Linked DNA regions of Homo sapiens: regions 2, 3, 4 and 5 are each linked to region 1. The links are contacts of gene promoters, found by promoter capture Hi-C in human tissues and cell types (Jung and others, 2019). All regions are on one chromosome and are shown on one strand. The core of a region is centred on a gene start or on the middle of the fragment in contact, and the rest is flanking DNA. Distances in the headings are between cores, read along the strand shown. Region 1 holds the start of PAPPA (pappalysin 1). Region 2 overlaps PAPPA (pappalysin 1). Region 3 overlaps LOC105376236 (a long non-coding RNA gene). Region 4 has its middle 95 kb from the start of LINC00474. Region 5 overlaps PAPPA (pappalysin 1).

Evidence for each region. Contacts are between HindIII fragments. The study calls those that stand out against the background at their distance.
Region 2: a fragment that was not itself captured here is called in contact with the fragment with the promoter of PAPPA in region 1 in 1 of the 25 tissues and cell types used here (bladder).
Region 3: a fragment that was not itself captured here is called in contact with the fragment with the promoter of PAPPA in region 1 in 1 of the 25 tissues and cell types used here (IMR-90 fibroblasts).
Region 4: a contact is called between a fragment that was not itself captured here and the fragment with the promoter of PAPPA in region 1, in 2 of the 25 tissues and cell types used here (IMR-90 fibroblasts and lymphoblastoid cells).
Region 5: a fragment that was not itself captured here is called in contact with the fragment with the promoter of PAPPA in region 1 in 5 of the 25 tissues and cell types used here (H1 embryonic stem cells, mesenchymal stem cells, mesendoderm cells and 2 more).

The regions. Positions count from the first base shown.
Region 1 is chr9:116,151,703-116,155,699 of GRCh38, reverse strand. PAPPA (pappalysin 1) reads right to left here and starts at 1,909. Exons shown (of 22, transcript NM_002581.5): 1 at 1,113-1,909. The coding sequence starts at 1,527. RefSeq lists a silencer at 43-132. The HindIII fragment of the contact is 11,414 bases long and covers 1-3,997 here.
Region 2 is chr9:116,302,246-116,306,242 of GRCh38, reverse strand. It overlaps PAPPA (pappalysin 1), which reads right to left. Exons shown (of 22, transcript NM_002581.5): 10 at 3,293-3,486. The region is part of intron 4 of PAPPA-AS2 (PAPPA antisense RNA 2); the gene reads left to right. Among named protein-coding and RNA genes, the nearest start is that of PAPPA-AS2, 59 kb to the left of the region's middle. The HindIII fragment of the contact is 5,013 bases long and covers 1-3,997 here.
Region 3 is chr9:115,994,630-115,998,626 of GRCh38, reverse strand. The region is part of intron 1 of LOC105376236 (a long non-coding RNA gene); the gene reads right to left. Among named protein-coding and RNA genes, the nearest start is that of LINC00474, 71 kb to the right of the region's middle. The HindIII fragment of the contact is 8,116 bases long and covers 1-3,997 here.
Region 4 is chr9:116,018,481-116,022,477 of GRCh38, reverse strand. No RefSeq gene overlaps it. Among named protein-coding and RNA genes, the nearest start is that of LINC00474, 95 kb to the right of the region's middle. The HindIII fragment of the contact is 3,305 bases long and covers 151-3,455 here.
Region 5 is chr9:116,283,537-116,287,533 of GRCh38, reverse strand. All of the region lies in intron 9 of PAPPA (pappalysin 1), which reads right to left. It overlaps PAPPA-AS2 (PAPPA antisense RNA 2), which reads left to right. Exons shown (of 6, transcript NR_170222.1): 6 at 1-1,706. Among named protein-coding and RNA genes, the nearest start is that of PAPPA-AS2, 78 kb to the left of the region's middle. RefSeq lists enhancers at 410-984, 985-1,561. The HindIII fragment of the contact is 4,653 bases long and covers 1-3,952 here.

The DNA.
Region 1 (3,997 bases), core at 660-3,159:
AAGCAGAACTGCCCGGAGAGCTCACAGCTTTCCCTTCTAAGAAAGTGTGTGTGTGAGGGGGTGGGATCGCAAAACGCCTTCACACGTTTCCTGGCTGCAGTGAAGGGGGAACCCCTACTCTCACTTTAAGACGTCCCAGGACATGGCAAGATTGTTTGTGCAGAAAGGGAATCTCCCAGACAGAAAAGGCAAAACTTTCCTCCTCTCTTCCAGCGCCGCCCCCACCTCCGCTCCCCAGTTTTATTAAAGGCATTTCCACAGATTCATTTAGAGGGGGGAAAATGGATGCTGGAGCATTTCTAAGGTTTGCAATCCTCGCAAAGTGTCCGATTTCACTATAGGCTTTGCTGTGGAACAGCGAAGGGGAGAGAGAGGGAGGTTGAGGAGGGAGAACTCAAATTCATTACGGGCTCATAAAGTCCCATATGAGAAAAGCGCCCCGTTTCGCAGCCGCGTCTGGGGAACGCTGGCGGGGTATGCGTTAGGAAGGTCTCGTCCCAGCCCCGAGTGACAGGCAATGGGCTTTAAAAGCTAGGACATGGGATGGCGTGGAGGGGGTGAGGGTGAGTCCCAGAGGCAGGCTTCAATCAGTGAGCAACTTTGGGGCACTTCGAGGACTTCTAAGTCCTGGCCATTACAACAACCTTGCCCTTGCCGGCTTTCAGGGGAATGGGGCCTAATGAAGGGGAGTTACCTCCATTAAAACGTCAAAGAAATCAACGGTCCCCAAGTCTCCTTTCACATGCATCTCAATTGGGTCATCCTCCCTTTCATCCCAAAAGGAGAGAGTGCATCTGACCATTCGGAGCACGGGTTACGTGCCCTAGGCTCCGGGAACCAGCCCTCACTGGCCGAGGGTCCGCGGGGCCGCCAGGAGGGCTCCCCAGGTTCCTCCCAGGGATGGAGCAGCTACGCCTTCCGAGTGTGCCCATTCCACCGATGGAGCAAAGTGAGGCTCTCAGCTCGCCCGGATGTCTCTGCGCCGCTCGCGGGGCAGCTCTCGCACAGACACGCCCGCAAGCCCCCGACCCGCCCGCCACCCGCGCCCAGACACCCGCGAGCCTCTGGGGCCGCAGGGACGGTGCAGCGCCCGCCGAGGCGCCCTCACCTACCTGTGATCACTGCCGGAGACCTCTGGCCCCCCTCCGCTCGCAGCCACACTTGCAGCGTGAACGCGTCCCGGGGCAGCTCGAGGTCGGCCCGGAGGCGCAGCTGCTCGCCTCGCCCGCTGAAATAGAGCGCCCGGCTCGGCGGGCTCGGCTCCTCGGTGGCGCCCCTCGCCTCCCGCTGCTGCCGCCGCCGGGGGACGCGCACGGCTTCCCAGGCACCGCCCGGCGGCGGCGGCGGCGGCGGCGAGGCGCGGCGGCCGCGGGCCGCCCGGGTGGCGCAGGTGGCCGGGCCGGCGGCGGGGCGCGGGGGTCGGCCGGCCCGCGGGTCTCTCCGGGCCCGGCGGGGACGCTCGGCCAGCCCGCAGCCCAGCGCGGCGCTCAGCAGCCCCAGGTGCAGCACCCAACTCCAGAGCCGCATGTCCGACGGTTCCCCCCGCCCCCCCTTCGCCCCTGCACCGCCACCCGGAGCTGCCAGCTTTGGGAGCCTCGGCGCCTCGACTTTCTTCGCTTCTTCACCCTTCTTGGGCGAGCCCCCCTTTCCACTTGCTTTTTTCTTTTCTTTCTCGCTTTCCTCCTCAAGGTGTGTGCTCCACTCTCCCCACCTTTGAAAAATACAGCCCAACTCCTCCTGGTTGGCAATTAATTTCTCTCCCCGCTCCTTTATCTGCCTTATTTTTCCCCTAACAGCTGGTTGCCTTCCTCCTTGTTTTATTTCATTTTATTTTATATGATTTCTCGCTCCAAAAAAAAGCTCCTCTTAAGACTGATCCGCTGAATTCCCTCCCCCCAAAAGATGCTCTAATTTATTTATTTTTTGCGTCCTTTATAACACAAGCCACAGCCCCCTTCTCCCCCCCCAAGTCCCCCCTCCCCTCCCTCCTTCTTCTCAAAATGAAAGGAAAGAGGGGGAAAAAATCCCTCAGAAGATGAGTAAACAAGCGTATGCTAATCTGCTCCCCAGCGCTCCACCTTCCCAATTGAATGAGTCCCTGTTAAAACTGCGGGGATCATGACTAATCAATCAGTTTGGAGAGGCCGAGCTATCCAGCTTTCCTTCACTTTGCCTTTTGCCTCCTTTCCTTCGCTCCCGCTTCTCCACCACCCCCTCCTTTTCTCTCTCTCTCTCTCTCTCTTTTTTTTTTTTTTTTTTTAAGGAGACAATCTTAAAGTAACAATTTAATGAAATTCTGTACACACCCCCTTACGGTCCTCCCAGCTCTCATTCCTGCTCAAAACACACATTCCTGTTTTTGTTTTGTTTTGCTTGCTTTTTTTCCCTCCCTCACTCCCCCCACTTATTATTATTATTTCTGATGGCAGGAGAAAAATCTGTCTCTTCTCTTAGGATCCCCTTTGCACTTTGCTGGTAAACCTCATCCTTTTCTGTAGCACATAAAGAGTCTTGAAACTTGATTCTTAGATTTTTTTTTTTAATTCTCTCTCTCTGTCTCTCCCTCCCTCCCTCTCCCTCTCTTTCTCTTTTTCTCACTCTCTCCCTTACTCTTCTTCCCGCTTCCTCTCCCTTTACCTCTTTCCCTCTTCTTTTCCCTGTCCTTTTCCCTCTCAGAATTTCCTTAAAGTTGTACGATGATGAACCATTCCCCTCTTTTCTGAGCCCCCAGATAAGGCTGGCTTCAGCTAACCCAAATGTTTCCAAAGTTCTTATGGAATCATCAGAAGAAAATAGAAGAAAGGCACTGTCCAGGACATCTGCCTTTCAGAAGCTGTAGTCCTAGTACAACTGGGTCTCTGAATTTCCCCGAATACTCTTTAAAATACTCTGTTGGTCATTAGAAATTATTTTAATTTTATAAGAAGAAAATGAGAGAAAAATATTAATTTGCCTAATGTTTTCAACTTAAGCAATTCAGGTCCTCTGAAATTGTTAAAGTCACAGGTAAGGATCTGACCATTTGCTGCTTTGTAGGTCTGTTTTTGAACTGGGACATACATGTAATATATTTTTTTCTTCTTTTTTCCCCCTCTTTATAGAACTCAAAAGCTCCCCCTTATGGCAAAACAGATCTTCTTTTATTTTGTCCAAGTGTTTAATAAGTCAAAACATGTTAGCAATGGTGGATTACAAGCTATTAATTACCAATCTATTCCAATAAGGTAGTGATAAAAATATTCTGTGTGAAGTTTGCATGTGAATAGCGTGCTGAAAGTCTGCGATAAAATTAACTCCACTAAATTGTAACTTTCTTCTTCAATTGCTCTTATCTTCCGAGCTGCTCCAGATCTTTCTTGAGAGCTAGGAACATTGCTACACGCTTCAGGAAGAGAGAAAACCAAGGAAGAATGTTTGTTGGCAAAAGTATGACGATTTGTCGGATGAGCAAATGACTCAGACATCCCCTCTATGAAAGCTGGAATGCGATATATGCAAAGATTATGGAAGCTTTCTGAAAATGGGAGATCTCAGATTCATACCTTCCTAGTTTAGAAAGAAGTTGCTGAATAGTCTTAGACTAAGAACGTTTGAACTCTGTTTCTGTAGTCATAAAATGAAAATAGCACAATACCCTAAATGTGTTTCCAGAGACTGGCTGGAGGAAAGAAAATCTTGGGTGCACAATGTCATGAATAAAGAATTTGCCTAAGCAAATCTTTGACTTTTTGCAACTCCAAGTCATCTGTAAAAGGTTGCCATTGGATAAAAAGAGAGCTATGTTGAACAACATAAATTGTATCATTCAAAATCCCCCTTCCTCTCCAATAGAGGTTGGACCATGACTACTGATTTACTTCAGTTGTGGCAATTAGGCATTTAGAAACTGCATGTCTTCCAGGGGGATTTTAAGTCATTGTATACAATAATTTTGAATATTCCTAGACAACTGGGAATTATTCAATTCTCAGACCAGCAGTGGGAGCACAAGATTTTT
Region 2 (3,997 bases), core at 1,101-3,600, 150 kb before region 1:
CACTCCTAACTCTTGTACAGTGACTAGGTCAGAGGCTGGGTATTTCAGTTCTTTGGTTTCTTCCACAGGCTCTAGCACAGAACTAGGCACATAACTCCAATAAACACCTTCGCATTTATCATTTTTATTGCATCAGGGAAAGACAGAAAGTGGGACCAAACTGAATTGTAAAGAGGAAATGGGAATGACTAGGTTATTTCATCATTCCCTAAGTTAATGGAGTGTCCTAGGGAACTCCAGGGCATCATGGAACAGGGCCACCTTGTCAGGGAATGGGAACAGCCTGAATTTGAAGGTATGGGCAGTGACTATAAGTTTGTTCAAGGAGAACTGAAGTACCTCATGAGGTCTGCAGAGTGACACTCAATGCTGAGATCTATCCATCTAGGAGTCTTTCTGCCTGTTTTGTAGTGAAGTTTTCCAGGAATCCAGCCACTTCCAACTTTTGAATGTGACCTCATGTTCCCAAGGACCCACTGTCATTCATCTTCCATGAGATTCTTCTAATCCTAGATTCTTCCCTTATGGACCATGTAACTTATAGTGAAGCCACTGTGTTCCTCAGTTTCTCCAAGGTAGACAACAATTCCTACCTTGAAGAATGACAAGGGGATTGGCTGTAATGTGCATACATGTGTCCAGTGCCTGGTGGACCTTGATAACTACTATTTCTTTCCTGCTATTCTCTTCTATCTGCTTTGGTACTCCCATGCTCCTACAGGGCCTTTTGGTGTGTAAATTTGTGTATGTATGTGTGTGTGTGTGTGTGTGAGAGAGAGAGAGAGAAGAGGGAGAGTATGAGCATCTGGGGGGAAAGTGAGAAGCACATGATACAATTCCCATCTTCTTCCTAAGCCCAACTTCTAAGAGCCTCCCAGCTCCTCCTCTCAAGCTATCAACATCTTCACTGGAAGCCCTGACAGGGTGAAAATTAACTACCAATCTCTTCTAATCACTGTACAAGGTAATGAAGAGCACAATTATACTTCCTCCTCATTCTCTGTTGTTGGAAGGAAGGTACGTTTACACTTCAGGAATAGCCTTTACCTCTAATTATGCAGACTCCGTGTGTGTGTGTGTGTGTGTGTGTGTGTGTGTGTGTGTGTGTCTGTGTGCCCACGTACTTGTGTATGCGTGTGCCTGTGCCTCTGTGTGTGGTGGTGGTAGGGTGTGTGTGTGTGTGTGTTTGTGAATGACTTCTAGGTACTTGCTTTCAGATGAGGAATTCAGGAGACTTTTGTTCTGCTGCCCTCTTCCTGGCCCTGCACCCAGCCTGCACACATATTCCCTCCCCGACCCTGTATTCTCCAGTGAGCTGATCTCATTATGGCAAATTTAGTTACAGCTGAAATCTCCTTGTAACAAAGATTATGTCCAAGCCCAGAGTAATGGAACCTAGTCGATTTCATTAAAATAAAATTGGTTACAATGAATAATTCAATAGGATGATTTTGTTTCCTCATCTCCTCTTTGTAGATCGAAGAGCTAGTATTTATAATGATTTTTTAAATTGGATTTTTGTTTAGGAAGAGATAATCACCAGTAATTCCTGACAGCCCCCCCTTACAAGATTGGAATAATTGCCCCATGAAGCTTCTTTTCAAATGCTAAGACTGGAAAATTCTTTCTCTCCTTTTCTCACATTAGTCGCAATAACATTTGGGTGATTTTTAAGCACAGCTGCTACCTCAACTCTTCCTCATGGGAGGTTCTGAGTGTGTTAATAATTCTCTTGTTTGAAGGTTGTTTTTAAAACATTTCTAAGAACTGGATGCTAGTGTTGAATTTGGATTCCTTGTTCTCTTGCTGGCCCCAGCACTGTTGTTTCTGAAGCAGGACATTCTATGTGATAGAGAGGCAATGCGTGAGTGTTTTCTGTCAGTGTCGTTCATTTGCATGTGGCAATGGGATGTATGTATGTGTATGTGTGTGTATCTACAGTCAATTAAACACACATTTGCTGGGCACCTATCTAGCCTTTGCTTGAACATGAGAGGACAAAGATGAATAAACTGAAACTTGTTCTCAAAGAACCAGCAGCCTAATGGGGGAGCCAGACAGACAAATAGATACTTCAGAGTTCAGTATGATAAATGCAACCACACAGATGATTCCACCAAGTACAGACGTGGCACAGGGGGAGGATGAACCCTAGCCATTCATCTATCTGTGCACTCATTCATTCATTCATTCATTCAGCAGGCTGGCACTATACATTGTTAAGCATCAGGAAATGCCATGTTACCATTTGTTTCCACTCTCCTGAGGGCATTCAAAAATAAATGCAAATGAATAAAGGCTTTAGTGATGTAAACATAAACAAAAAGTGAATGAAGAAATAATCAAATACAGGCAACAACTAAAAATGAGGTAGTCCTATTCTGTACCTCACCCAGTGATTCTTCACTTGACCCCAGAGGAAGGTCATATCTTTCTTTCATCTAGAAGCCAGGGCTACCCGACTAAACCTAAATCAAGAAAGCAATATTGGAAAGGAATGCCTGGGAATAGCAGCTCATCTGCAAGGCCAGGAGGCAGGCTGGTCTCTGAAAGGCCACTAGGCCAGGCAGCCAGAAGCACTGAGTCGTGTCTCTGGGAAATTTGAGTCTCGGGGAAGGCAGGTGCTTCCTTGGTAGGATAATTGGAAAGGGGGCTCTCGGGACAGCATGACCATCTCTAGAATCATACAAGCACTAGTGGCCCCAAAACTCTCACTCCCTGGACTAAGCTGTCAGTCCCTTGGGGAAGAACTGTGGCACATAAATAGTGCATTAGGGGACTGAGGCATGAGTCACAGCTTCTTAGAATTGGGAAGGCCCTTGGAGATCAACAAGCTCAACTACTCTTTATTTTAAGGATGAGTCGAAAAATAGGGCCCAGAGAGGTGGGAGAACTAGTCTAAGGCCACATAGCAAATTACTGTATAATTACTGTTAATTCAAGTAGTACACAGCTTGGCGCCCCCTAAAAAGTGGGACTTCCAATATAAATTCATTCTTACCTCATTGAAATACATGATATATGCAAAATGGAGTTCTTTCTCCAAATATTAGTTATTACAGGCAAGGAAATAGGAGGACAGTCATTACCCTATCATACAATGTTCCCTGCCCTAACAATTCCAGATCTAATCTTTTACAAATGGTATTCATGAAGCCCTAACAGTACATTTAATAAAGATATGCTCAAGTGGCTATAGCCAATGACACTGCCTTAGAGGTGAGTAGCCTTGTGGGGCATAGCGGAGACTTTGAATGTCTGCAGGAAATGCCACACATGGTTAGGATCTTACCTGGGATGCTGCTGGCTGTCCGATGATGACCCAGCCTGGGCATTGCTGGTCTTGATGAGATACTGAAGCATTGGATGCCCACTGATCCAGGAATCCCTGGGGCGTGTAGACACCACAGTCCTTAATGCTGGTTTTTTGTTCAAACTCCTCACATACCCCATCACCATCATGGAAATAGCACCGGCTGGGTTCATCTGCAAAAGATTGACATAGAAAGGGAGAGAATAAATAAATATTTGTTCTTTGGCCTCAGCAATCATCAGCAGCTGCAGAGTCAGACCACCAAAACCATTGGTACTGTCAAGCCCATCACATTAGTCACGATGGACTATTACTCAGTCTTGAAAAAAAAAGAAGGAAATTCTGTCATCTGCAACAACATGGATGAACCATGTTCAAGGAGATAACCATGTTATAGGAAACGTGGAGGCCACCATGTTAAGGGAAATAATCCAGTCACAGAAAGACAAATACTGCATGATTCGACTTATAGATGGCATGTAAAGTAGGGAAGCTCATAGAAGTAGAAAGTAAAATGGTGGTTTCCAGGATCTCGGGGGAGGAGGAAATGGAGAGTTGCTTTTCAGTGAGTATGTGGTTTCAATTGTGCAACATGAAAAAGTTATAGGAATCTGCTGTAAAATAGTGTGCTTATAGTTAACAATATTGTACTTTACATTTAAAATATATAAAGAAGGTAGACCT
Region 3 (3,997 bases), core at 447-2,946, 160 kb after region 1:
TATTTGACATATATTCGGTGCTCAATACATACTTGTAGAATGTATGAGCTTCAAAGTGCTTTTAGAAAACTTGGTACCTCTTCCAATGCTTCCTGCACTCCTGAAAATTAGAGATGAGGGATGAAGCCATTCTCATTTTACACAGAAGGATGCTGAGCCATAAAGGAATTACTAACACCCCACAATAAATCTGTGGAGAAGCTGTTCCAATCTCCTGGCCTATAGCCCATTACATACAATTCCAGGTCAGGTCTCCTACTCCTTCTCCAGTTTGTTTCCAGTTTGAAAACAAAGTTAACAAGTGCCTTTAGCATGACTTTGACCAAAGACTTCTCATGAGACACTTTGAGGGATCTCAAATGCCCACTTGGGCAAGCAGCCTTCAATCAGAAGCAGGCACGTGTTGCAGGCTATGAAAGGGGAAACCTTCTCTGTGTCACAGCTGAAAGCACTCCTCTAGATATTTAAAGCAAGCCCTCTTTTAAAAAATTAATGACCTGAAAGGGGAGAGAAGAAGCTGCCTATGTAATGTGGAAAAAGGAGCTGAATGACCACAGTCCTGGACCCTCTCCAGATGATATCATCAGCCTAGATAATAAATTTGTAACAATGTGGCTGAAAGAAAGGAGACATAATTTCAAAATTAGTCAAAGAAGCTGGTAGCAGTAGAACCAAAAATAAGGATTTTTTTTTTTAATCTGGTAGGCACAAATCTTCTATCCCCTGGGTAGTTAGATTATCCAGAGAGTAGAGCAGAAACCACAGTCATTTCTGAGTCTTGGAGCCTACTTGTTCCCAGCCCATCAGAACAGGCAGAGTGGCAAGTGGGCCTGTCTCCTTTGTGTGTCTGCTAAACATGCCCTTCTAGTTTAAAAAAGGATAAATGAGAGAATGCTGAAGTTATGAAAAGTCAGTCACTCACTTAACATGAACCATTACCTAGGGATTCTCATAGATCCTCATAATTATAAATGTGTGATAAGTTAAAAAAAAAGAATGAATGCATAAGGTTGAACGTTGTAATTAATTATGATGTAATTAATTGTGAAGCACAGATCACTACCTCTTTCATGTCAACTCCAATATTCTGTGGTGATTCCCCTGCCCCGCAGATAGACTGGCAGCAAGAGGGCACACATATTTATGACTTGGTCATCGTAGCTAAGCACAGTCAAAGGATATACTGGCAAAGGGCATTTTTTTCTGTTACCTTCTTTCTCCAAGCCACTTGTCACTTCTCTCCTAACCTACTATAGAAATCTTGTGATGGTTTTCCTATCAACTTACTTCCTCACCTCCAGTACAATTTTAATAGTCAGTTGGCATTTAAAAATATTAGTTGGGGAGTTGGGGCATGGTGGACCACGCCTGTAGTCCCAGCTACTCGGGAGGCTGAGATGGAAAGATTTCTTGAGCCCAAGAGTTCCAGACCAGACTGGGGACTATAGTGAGTCCCCGTCCCCTCCCTCTGAAAAAAATGTATCTATGAGTTCATTTTTGTTATTGCCTTGCCTAAACACTTAAATGTTTGCCCATTACTTCTTGAATAAAGACCAAGCTCCTTCTGTGCGTGGCCTATTATACCTTGTGTCTTCTGATATTCATCTACCTCTCCCATCTCTCCTTAATTTTCTTGAAAGTTAAAAGATAATGTGGCTAAAGTGAACAAGGAAGCCATGTGTCTTTAAGAAAGACACATTTCTATGGTCTTTTTATATCTCTGAGCTTTCACATTTACTGTTCCTTTCATGTGGAATGTTCACTTCCTTACTCAAACCTGGTTAATTCTAATACATGCTTCACCTAAACACACACACACACACACACACACACACACACACACATCTTTTCTCACAATAACCTGGCATCTCCCTCTCACTTGGTCGACCACTTTCCATTTATAACTGTATGCTAGTTTCTATGACTAATTGTTTAATTGCATGCAAGGTGGGGGTGGAGGGGCAATGCCCATGTTATGTACACTGCTTCTTCCCAGAGATTGCGCAACAGTGTGGTCAGTAAATATTTGCTGAATGGCTAAAAGAAAATTTACCACATTTTTTATGACTTTGGGCAGTCAAAGACGTGAGTTCAGTTCCAAGGAGCCTCAGTACATTACACTATCCCATAACAAAGATGATAATGATGATGAAAATTATGATCACCTACCCTTTATTTTGCCCCTTATATCTAATACTAGGTATTAGGCACTGAGATAAGGATTTTCTCTATATTTCTCACTTAACTCATTCAAAAGTGCTATGAAAACAGAGGCTCAGAGAGATTAAGTGCTTGTTCAAGATCATATAGCTAGAAAATGCCAGAACTTTGATTTAAAACCAGGTCTATTCAACTTCATAATCTGTTTCTTTTATAGCTCACCACAGTGTGAACTATAATTCTACTTTAGAAGTAGTTTCCCTACAGTCTGGGAATAAATAACTCAAGGAACATAGCCATGGATGTATGGCAGAGATGTGATCCTTGTGGATGAAGGAGAGAAAGTCACGAAGGAGAATGGGGATTTTGTAGAAGAAAGAGTGCACTATGTGATGGTGTGCACATGAGGGGTAAACACGATCTCACTGATATTTTCTTGACAGTAAAAACTGAGTTATGATGGTGTGTTAATATTTAGAAATATTAGAACATAGGGTGTAAGTTGTAAGAAAGAGATTGATATCTGTCTTTTGAAAATCCTGCCAGATGACTGGTGGTGAAAAGTTTAACAGAAATCAAACATCTGGTAGAGATTTTCCCAAACTTGCAACCCTCTTCTTACCTACCCCCACTCTAGCCTCAGTAAAGTTCTTCCTGTAGAAATTTCTAAAATTGATGAGAAACCAAGTATTTTTAAAATGAATCAATAGCTTTCTTAAATCTGTTTTTATTCTTCTAAAGTAGCTTAATAAAAATAACTTTATGAATTTTCTTAATATTTTAAATCTTAGAAAAGTGAACATAAAATATTCAGTAAGGACACATAAATGAATGAAGTTTACCACTACATTATTTTGAGAAAAAAGGATTTGCTTATCAAATAAATAAACAACTTTGATATCATTTGAAAGAATGTTTAAACACTGTAAGAGAATGAGCTATTCTCAAACACTTTACATATCAGCTGATAAACTTATAAAAAATCACTCTTTTTTATTGACTAAGATTTGTCCCTAGAGACACCTACTTGGCAATTTGTTTGAATTAACATATGTTTTTTAAAAGACAATCTACATTTATTTTTAAACTTTGTGTAAAAATATAAACTTTGTGTAATTCAGAGCAATACAGATTTATACCAATAGCTCTGTATTAGTCAAAATTAGGAAGGCTTCAGAACGTTTACATAATGTCTTCCTTGGAATTCTAACAAGGGCCACAGAATCTAAAGGCTCTCTCTTCATTCCTTCCTTCCTTCCTTTTTTTCTTTTTTCTTTCTTTCTTTTCTCTTCCCCTCTCTCCTTCCTCCCTTCTTCCTCCCTCCTTCTTCCTTCCTTCCTTCCTTCCTTTCTTTCTTTCTCTTTCTTTCTTTCTTTTTTCTTTCTTTCTCTCTCTCTCCTTCTTTCCCTTCCTTCCTTCCTTCTTTCCTTCTTTCCTTCTCTTTCTTTCCCCAGACATGAGGCTGTTATGAAATATTGATTACATTTAACTGCCTTTAAAAAGAAATTCTGCTTCTATTAGATGACTTCTGTAAGAATCTAACCCTAGAATTGGCTGAGAACATTTCCAGATAATATACCTTTCCCAAACAAAATTTGTTATTCAAAATACAGTAATTGAGAGAGCATCACAGATTCTCAAATCAAAGGAACAATTTTGTGAGGAAAACTCTGACCTGGTATTGAGGAATGCGCAGTGCATTTTATCATTGAATCTTAACAGCAACCCTTTAGGTTGGCCTGGTTATCCACATGGTGACAGAAGCTCAGTATTCTGATGGAGCAAGGCCAAGATTACATATTGGAAGGAGCTCAAGCACAACTCACACCCAGGTCTC
Region 4 (3,997 bases), core at 554-3,053, 130 kb after region 1:
GATTATGGTGTAAAAAGTTTGATTTTATGTATTTTCTCCTATTTTTCATATTTTTATATTTTTGTACTTTTGTATCTTCAAATTTATTTAATTAGGAATTTTCAGAGAAAGAGAATCAATAGGATGAGAGGGTATCTGTCTATCTATCTATCTATCTATCTATCTATCTATCTATCTATCCATCTGTTTCTCTATATTCCAAATCTAAAATGTGGATCAGCATGCTTGAGACTTAAAAGGGTTTATGATCCAGTTTCATTCCAAAGGTGGCAGCCAGAGTTCCAGGGAGAGCTGATGATGCAGATGAAGTTTAAAGGCAGTCTCTTGAAGAATTTTTTTTTTTTACTCAGGGGAGGCTCAGCATTTTCTATTCTAATCAGGCCTTCAATAGATTAGTTGAGACCAACTCCCATTATGGAGGGCATCCTGCTTTAGTCTCATTCAAAAACACCCTGTCAGAAACATCCAGTATAATGTCTGACCAAATATCTGGGTATCCTGTGGTCCAGTTAAATTAGCATATAAAATTAACTAACACATCTTTCTTCTATCCTATCTATTTAAATTTTGATTCTGCTATTATATATTTAATTTTCAAAAGCTTGTTCTTATTTTCTGAATGCTCTTCTTTCATAAGATCCTACCTTTTGTTTGTTTTTATTTGAATGCTGGATATTATCTTATTTCTATAAGAACACTATATTTGTTTAGCTTTCTCTTTTTTCTTTTTAGTTTTTCTTCTGGTCTTTACAGAAATTCTGTTTTTTGAGCTTCCATTTTTAGTTTGCTCTGGTTTCTGCCTTTCATGTTAGAGGATTTACTCAAATATCTGCCAGTCCTTGAGTATTCATTCATCAACAAGATTTAAGGTAGCGAAAAATTAATTTGAATTTCAGGTTGTGTGAGTGGGACTTTCTGATTGGTGGGCCTCATTGAATGATGTTAAAACAGGGACTTGACCATATTATTGGAGATTCCCTCAAATGTGAATATCTGTAGTTTTAGTCTGGTCAAATTTCTTAGAGAGAAACCTTTCACTCTCCTTGACTTTGGGCATATAAACCAGCTTCCATCTTGAAGGAAGTCAAGTTGTAGAAAAGGGAGCTTAGCAATCTTGCCATTCAGGTTGTAGATTTTTGCTTAAGTTTCCTATTTTTAATACATGTCTTATCTCAACCTCAGCTTTGTCCTGGGTATCCACATCAAGAGCATCTTTAGTTTCACTTCTCCAAAGAATAAAATTCCCACGTTCTTTCGGCCTGGTTTGGGGAAGAGCAGCACCTGGCATTCTGGCCAGGAGAAGATAATCTGGAATTATAAAACTTTTTAAAAATTAACTTTCAATGAATCCTCCTCTCTTCAACTGTCTCCTCATTCCTACCTTGTAAGATACCAGGTGACTTTCCTGAGCCTTTGCAAAGTTTTGTGGCATGAATCATCTTGTTTCTTTTGATCTTCTTCATGCTCCTTCAGTCATTTGGGTTTCTGCTTCCTCACCACTGATGATGTGGTTTTCATTAATCCATCTGCTTCCCATCTTCCTGAATTTTGTTGACATACCTCATCTGTTTACTTACACCTTCTATTTTTTTCCACTGGGTACTTCTGGGTTTATACCATGTTTATTCCTTTACAGGCATGATCATGGCATTTCAGAAGATTCTAAGAAAAATGTATGTTCTAAATACATCATGCTTAAATGAAAAACAATAACAAATTTTTATTGTTTTCCTGATACATTCCACATACTTTTATATGCATCATAAATAGAGCAAGAAACAAATGACACATGGTCTCTGCCCTCTCAAATTTTTATTGTAGTAGAGGGAAATAACAAATAAAGAAATAAATGTACAAAATAATTTTTGGTACTCATTAAGTATCGTTTTTAAAAGATAAAGCAAGGTAAAAAGGAACTGGGTAATGATGGGAGGAATCTATTAAGATAGGGAATCAAAACATCTTTCTCTGAAGAGATGATATTTAAACAAAAACCCAAATTAGTTAAGGATATGAGGCAAGTTAGAAATTGGGGGAAAATATTTCCAAATAGAGGGGTCAGCAAAGGCCTCATGGCAAGTATAAACTGAACACTCAAAACAGCAAAAAGACAAGTGTGGCTGGGAGGGAATGAGCATGAAGAACAGACCACAAAACCACAAACGTGAGGAAAGACCAGATCATTTGGGACCTTCTGGGTCTTGGGAAGAAGCTTGAAATTTGTTCAAAATGAGAAGGAAATGTTAAAATCTAATTTTCTTTTTTAAAAGAAATGTTCAAGAAATTTATTTTTGCCATTCTACAAAGACTAGGCTCTTGGGAGCTTAGAGGGAAAGCAGAAAGACCTGCTCAATACTACTGAACTAATCCAGATGAATGAATTTCATGTCTTGAACCTGGCTGGCAATGAAGGATAAAGGTAATGAGGTGGTATCAATAAGGCGCAAATGGTGATGTGTCTTGCATTGCCAGTAAGAAAGACTGGGAGAGAAACAGGTTGAGGAATAGATCAACAAAAGTCCAAAGTTTCCTTTTAGTACATACTACTTTTGAGCGATGCCAAGTAGCAGCTTAACTATCTCAGTCTGGAATTTACGGTAGTCAGTAATAACATTTAAAGTTGTGGAACCAGATGAGATTACATAGAACAGAGATCTACAAACTATAACCATCAGTCCAAATATGGCCATTGGTTGTTTTTATTGGAACATGAAAATGTTTGTTTTTGTATATTCTATATGGAAACTTTTGCACTACAATGGCAGAGTTAAGTAGGTGCAGCAGAAACCACATTGCCCTAAAGTTTAAAATATTTACTATCTGGTCTTTTATGGGAAAAGTTTGCTGATTTTTGACCTAGGGAGTAATTGAAGATGAATAAGAAAGTCAAGGATGAAGTTCTGGAGTTCACAGACATTTAAAGATTGGAAAGATGAAGGTGACCCAGCAAAAGATACTGAGAAGAAACAGCAAGTGAGGAAAGGAAAACCAAGTGAGTGTGATATCCCAGGAACCAAGTACATTCTTGGGAAGAAGATTATTTAACTATGGCAGATGTTGCTGAGAGGTAATCCAACATGAGGATGATGGGACTTGACAGGATGAATTTGTGGTGACCTTGACAAGAACAGTTTCTATGGAGCAGCAGCAACTAAGTCTAATTGTTGTGTGTTCAAGAGAAAATGGAAGGTAAGGATGTGAAAATGATGAATATAAAAAAATCTTTTCAGTTTTGCTGTAAACACAAGAAAAATCAGATTGTAGCTGAAAGGAGAAAAGATATGAAAGAAGAAAGCACAGGTTGGTTTGCTAAGAAGGAGACTTTAAGACAGAGATCAGAGTACAGAAAGGTTGGTTGTGCTTTCAGAATCAATATCTATGGAAGGGAAGGCAAGATTGGATAAAGAAACAACCAATGGGTCAAACAATAAATCACAAGGGAAATCTAAAAGTATATGGAGACAAATGTAATGGAAACACAGCAAAACACAACCTATGGGAGGCAACAAAAGTAGTTTTAAGAGGGAAGTGCATAGCAATAAATGTCTATATTAAAAAACAAGAAAGAGGGCCAGGCATGGTGGCTCACACCAGTAATCCCAGCCCTTTGGGAGGTGTAGGCAGGTGGATAACTTGAGCCCATTAGTTCAAGACCAGCCTGGGCACCATGGTGAAACCTCATCTCTACAAAAAAAATACAAAAATCAGCTTGCCATGGTGATGCGTGCCTGTAGTCCCAGCTATTCAAGAGACTGAGATGGGAGGATTGCTTGAGCCCCAGAAGTGGAGGTTTCAGTGAGCCAGGATTGTGCCACTGCACTCCAGCATGGGCAACAGAATGAGACCCTGTCTCAAAACAAAATAAGAAGAAGGGAGATTCAAAGTAAATAATCTAACATTACACCTCAAGGGACTGGAAAAAGAGGAGCATACTAAACTCAAAGTTCGCAAAAGAAAAGAAATAGTAAAGATCAAAACAGAAATAAATCAAATAGAA
Region 5 (3,997 bases), core at 377-2,876, 130 kb before region 1:
TCTCTCTTCTCGAACGCACTCTAGTCTAAGCTCCAGACACAAATTGTCGTTGCCCTGAGTGGACCATGTTCCCTCTCACCTCCCCACGTTTGCAGAAGCTTTCTTCAAATCCCCAGAGCTGCCTTTTCTGTGACTAGTCCCCATTTGTCCTTTATTCACAGTTTAACCTCTCAAAAACCTGCCTGGAAACCCACCCCCAGAAGGGCTAATGGACCCTCACTAGGTCTTCCTATACCATCATCCGCTTCCCCAGTTAAAATTGTACTTAGCGTATTTGTGAAATGAATAACTGGATGACTTTCTCCATGCTGGGCATTGTGCTAAATGTTTCAAGTACATAAGGCATTCAAATCTAGAAGAGCCCCGTGTTTGGTCCTATTATTATCCCCATTTTACAGACAATGAAATTGAGGTTTCAAGAGGGTAAGTCATTCCCATGCTGTCCAGTTAATCTATTTTGAATGGATGTGGATATTCAGGAGAATCTGATGAGATGGGCTGATCTGATTCTCTCTCGGATGCCCTATGATTTGGCACTACTTGGGGGCTCAGGGGCCTGATGGAGCTGTGATCACAACCTGGCTCTTCACTAATTAGCTGGTGTCAATGACCAGCACACTTTAGCCCTGAGTCCGTTTCCTCTTTGGCAAATTGGCAAAATAATGACTACCTTCCCAACTGTTATGAGGACAAAAAAATGAGAAGCTGTTGAGAAAGCACGTAGCACCACATCCAGCATTTAAAAAACAAATTTTTTAAAGTAAAAGATGAGGAGTTTCCCTTTCCTTAAAGGAAGTAATCTGTCTCTGCTACCTTGTGCCACAGTTAAACTGCACAGGCTCAATAACTTATGTTTTGGTTAAACGTTTTTAATTTTTTTAGAGTGAAATCCGAGTTTTTGTTGGCAAGTGATTGAACACGCTGGGCCCAGCCTGCAGGCCCACAGTCCATTAGGAAATTTACGAGGCGAGATGGGGACCTTCAGCTCAAGTACTCCCTTCAGACGCAGTACTTACAAAGCCATCAATTTCCTTAACAAAGAGCATTGGCTTAAATGCCCCTTAAAGCAGTGTTATTTACACAGCTATCCACTTCCTTTTGAATTCTCTGCCTGGGGGGTGGCAGACCTGCAGTTCTTTCCAGCTACGAGTTAATTAGGCTCTCTCCCCAAATGGAAGCAAGCCGCAGACTGAGATTTGGTATTAAAAAGCAGCTCAATTTGGGGCCATCCGAGAGTCTTATGGGGTGATCCAAATACCACCAAAATCACTGGTTCCACCCACCCATTCTTCTAAAATTCTAAAGCCTTTGGACCTTACCAAAGAGTAATGACCTCTGTCAGTATAGAGATAGAGAAGGAAAGGCAGCATTTGAGCCCGTCTCTACTTAGTGAAAGAAGCCTCAAAAAAGTACTGCTGGCTAAGATAGCATACTTTCTACCTCTTGGTGTATCGATATAGTAACATTAACATTTTAAAGAAGCCCCCACCCCTTTTGTGGGGGAACTAGGATTTGGATACAAGCAGCCCAGTTCAGGGGTCTGAGCATGAAACCACCACCCCAAGCCACCTGACCCAAGATAACCTGCCCGAGATGACAGCTAAGGGGGAAAGTCTCCTATTCAAACAGGATTGTCTGACTCTAAAGACCAGCAAAGCTCAACTACACTTTCTTGCCTGAAAAATAAAACTGTCTCTTAAGAAATACATCCTTCTTTTACTCATTTATTCTATATTTACTGAACTGCAAATTATTTGTCAGTCCCTGGACTAACTCTTGGGAAATCAGATGAATTAAAGCAGGTCTCAGTGCTCCAAGAACTCAGGTCCTAGTGAGAGGGGAGATATGTAAATGATGACGGCACAGGATTCTGACCCTCATGAGGTACAAGATACTGTGGGAGCACAGAGGAGGGACCCCCAATCCAATCTAACCCAGATTTAAGAAGGTTTCCCTTAGGAGGCAACACCTGGGCTGTATCTCTCAGAGGAGGAACGGGTGGTGAGGAGCACATTCCAGCAGGGGGACACTGTGAGCAAATGAGATGAGGCCAGCAATATAGTAGGAGGTATAAAGCACAAGATGGTATTGGAGTATAAAATGCAAATCCTGGCCGAGGTGGGCAGGACACAAGGTCAAGAGATCGAGACCATCCTAGCCAACATGGTGAGACCCCATGTCTACAAAAATACAAAAATTAGCTGGGTGTGGTGGTATGTGCCTGTAGTCCCAGCTACTTGGGAGGCTGAGGCAGGAGAATCACTTGAACCCAGGAGGTGGAGGTTGCAGTGAGCCCAGACAGTGCCACTGCACTCTGGCCTGGCAACAAAGTGAGAATCTGTCAAAAAAAAAAAAAAAAAAAGAAAGAAAGAAAAGAAAAAGAAAAAGAAAGAAAAAAGAAAAAGAAAAGAAAAGCAAATCCTGGGCTCAGATCACGCAAGGTCTTAAATGACACAGTAAGGAATTTAAATTTATCTCAAGGGCAACATGGAGCCATCTGACACTCTCAATTGGAGAGCAACAAAAGGTGTCTGCACTTTAGGAAACTTGCTCTCACCTATGGGCAGGTAGATTGGGGCAAGCAAAAAAATGAACAAGCAACATGTTCATTTTACAAGCTTTCTCTTATAAAAGCCTAATCAGGAGCTGAAGAGGGCCTCAGGTAGAGTAATGATCATGGGGCGAGAGAGACTGATTTGGACGCAGACAAGATAACGTTTTCAAAGTAAAATGGGAAGAATGGCAATTATTTGGATGTGGGAAATGGCAGAGAGGGAAGAGTTATGGATGTTTCCCAAGCTTCTGTTTAAATGTCTGGTTGGCTACTGGCGCCACCAGTTGAGATTAGGAAAAACACTTGCAGCAGGTCTGGAAAGAAAGATGGCAAGCTTTGTGTAAGATGTGTCGAATGTGAGTTCCCTTGGGGCGTCAAAGTAGAGCAATTAGATATACAAGTTCATGGGTCAAAAAAAAAAAAAAAAAAAAAAAGGCCCAGACTAAAGATAGAGATTTTGGAGTCATACAAGGAGAGAATGGAGAATGAGAAGTGTGCCTATTATGGAACATTGGAGACTGCTGATACTTAAAGAGTAGGTGAAAGAAGGTCTGTGGAGGGATGGTCAGAAAAGTTAAGAAAAACAGAAGAGGCTAACACTTCACAGGTACCAGGAGTTCTGAATTTCAAGAAAGAGCCAGATAAGACAAAAGAGAAAAATATTGAAATATGTCTGTTTGAACATGCTATTTAATAGAATCTCATGCATGACTTCCCTAAAGAATGATTCTCAAATTTCTGCTCAATCTCTTCCGGGGACAGGTCACTCTCTACTTGTGAGTAAGAACTAGATTATTATTTTTGTTAGCCATAATAATCAATATTTGTTGATCACTTTCTGGAAGACAGGAACTGTCACAAACACAGGCATCCTTGGTGTCTAGCATGAACCTGGCACATAAGAGGTGCTCAATAAATAAAAGCCTATGTGATGAATGAATAAGTTTATAAATTAATAAAACAATATATCATAACAATCATATGAAGTCAGGAATATCACTCCTACTTCTCAGGTGGAAAAAGGTATTTGGGGGATGAACCCTGAGGCAGACAAGTGGTCCTTGTGCTTCGGGGCTGGTCAATCAGCTTTTCCTCCCTCCCTGTCCCTTTAGAAGTTCTCTTGGCAAAATGCACACGGGACAAATGGAAAAGGGATTTCAGACTCTTGTGGAGACCCTTCCTTGGTAATGAGGCTGAACTCAAGCTATACATGTGGTTTTGGACTCCTAAACTGAGGAACCAACTCCAGCCAGGACCTTTCAGAGTCCTGCCAATGGCGGCTGATAGTTAAATTTAAACTTACGGATAATTTGGGCTGGGTTTCTGACTGCTGTTGAAAGCTAAAATCACCCTGATTTCTCTTTGGGTCAGTTTGCCAAGAGTATTTTGTTGGCCCTTGAAGAGCATCCCATTCAGGGAGGTTGATCTTTTTTAAAATACTGC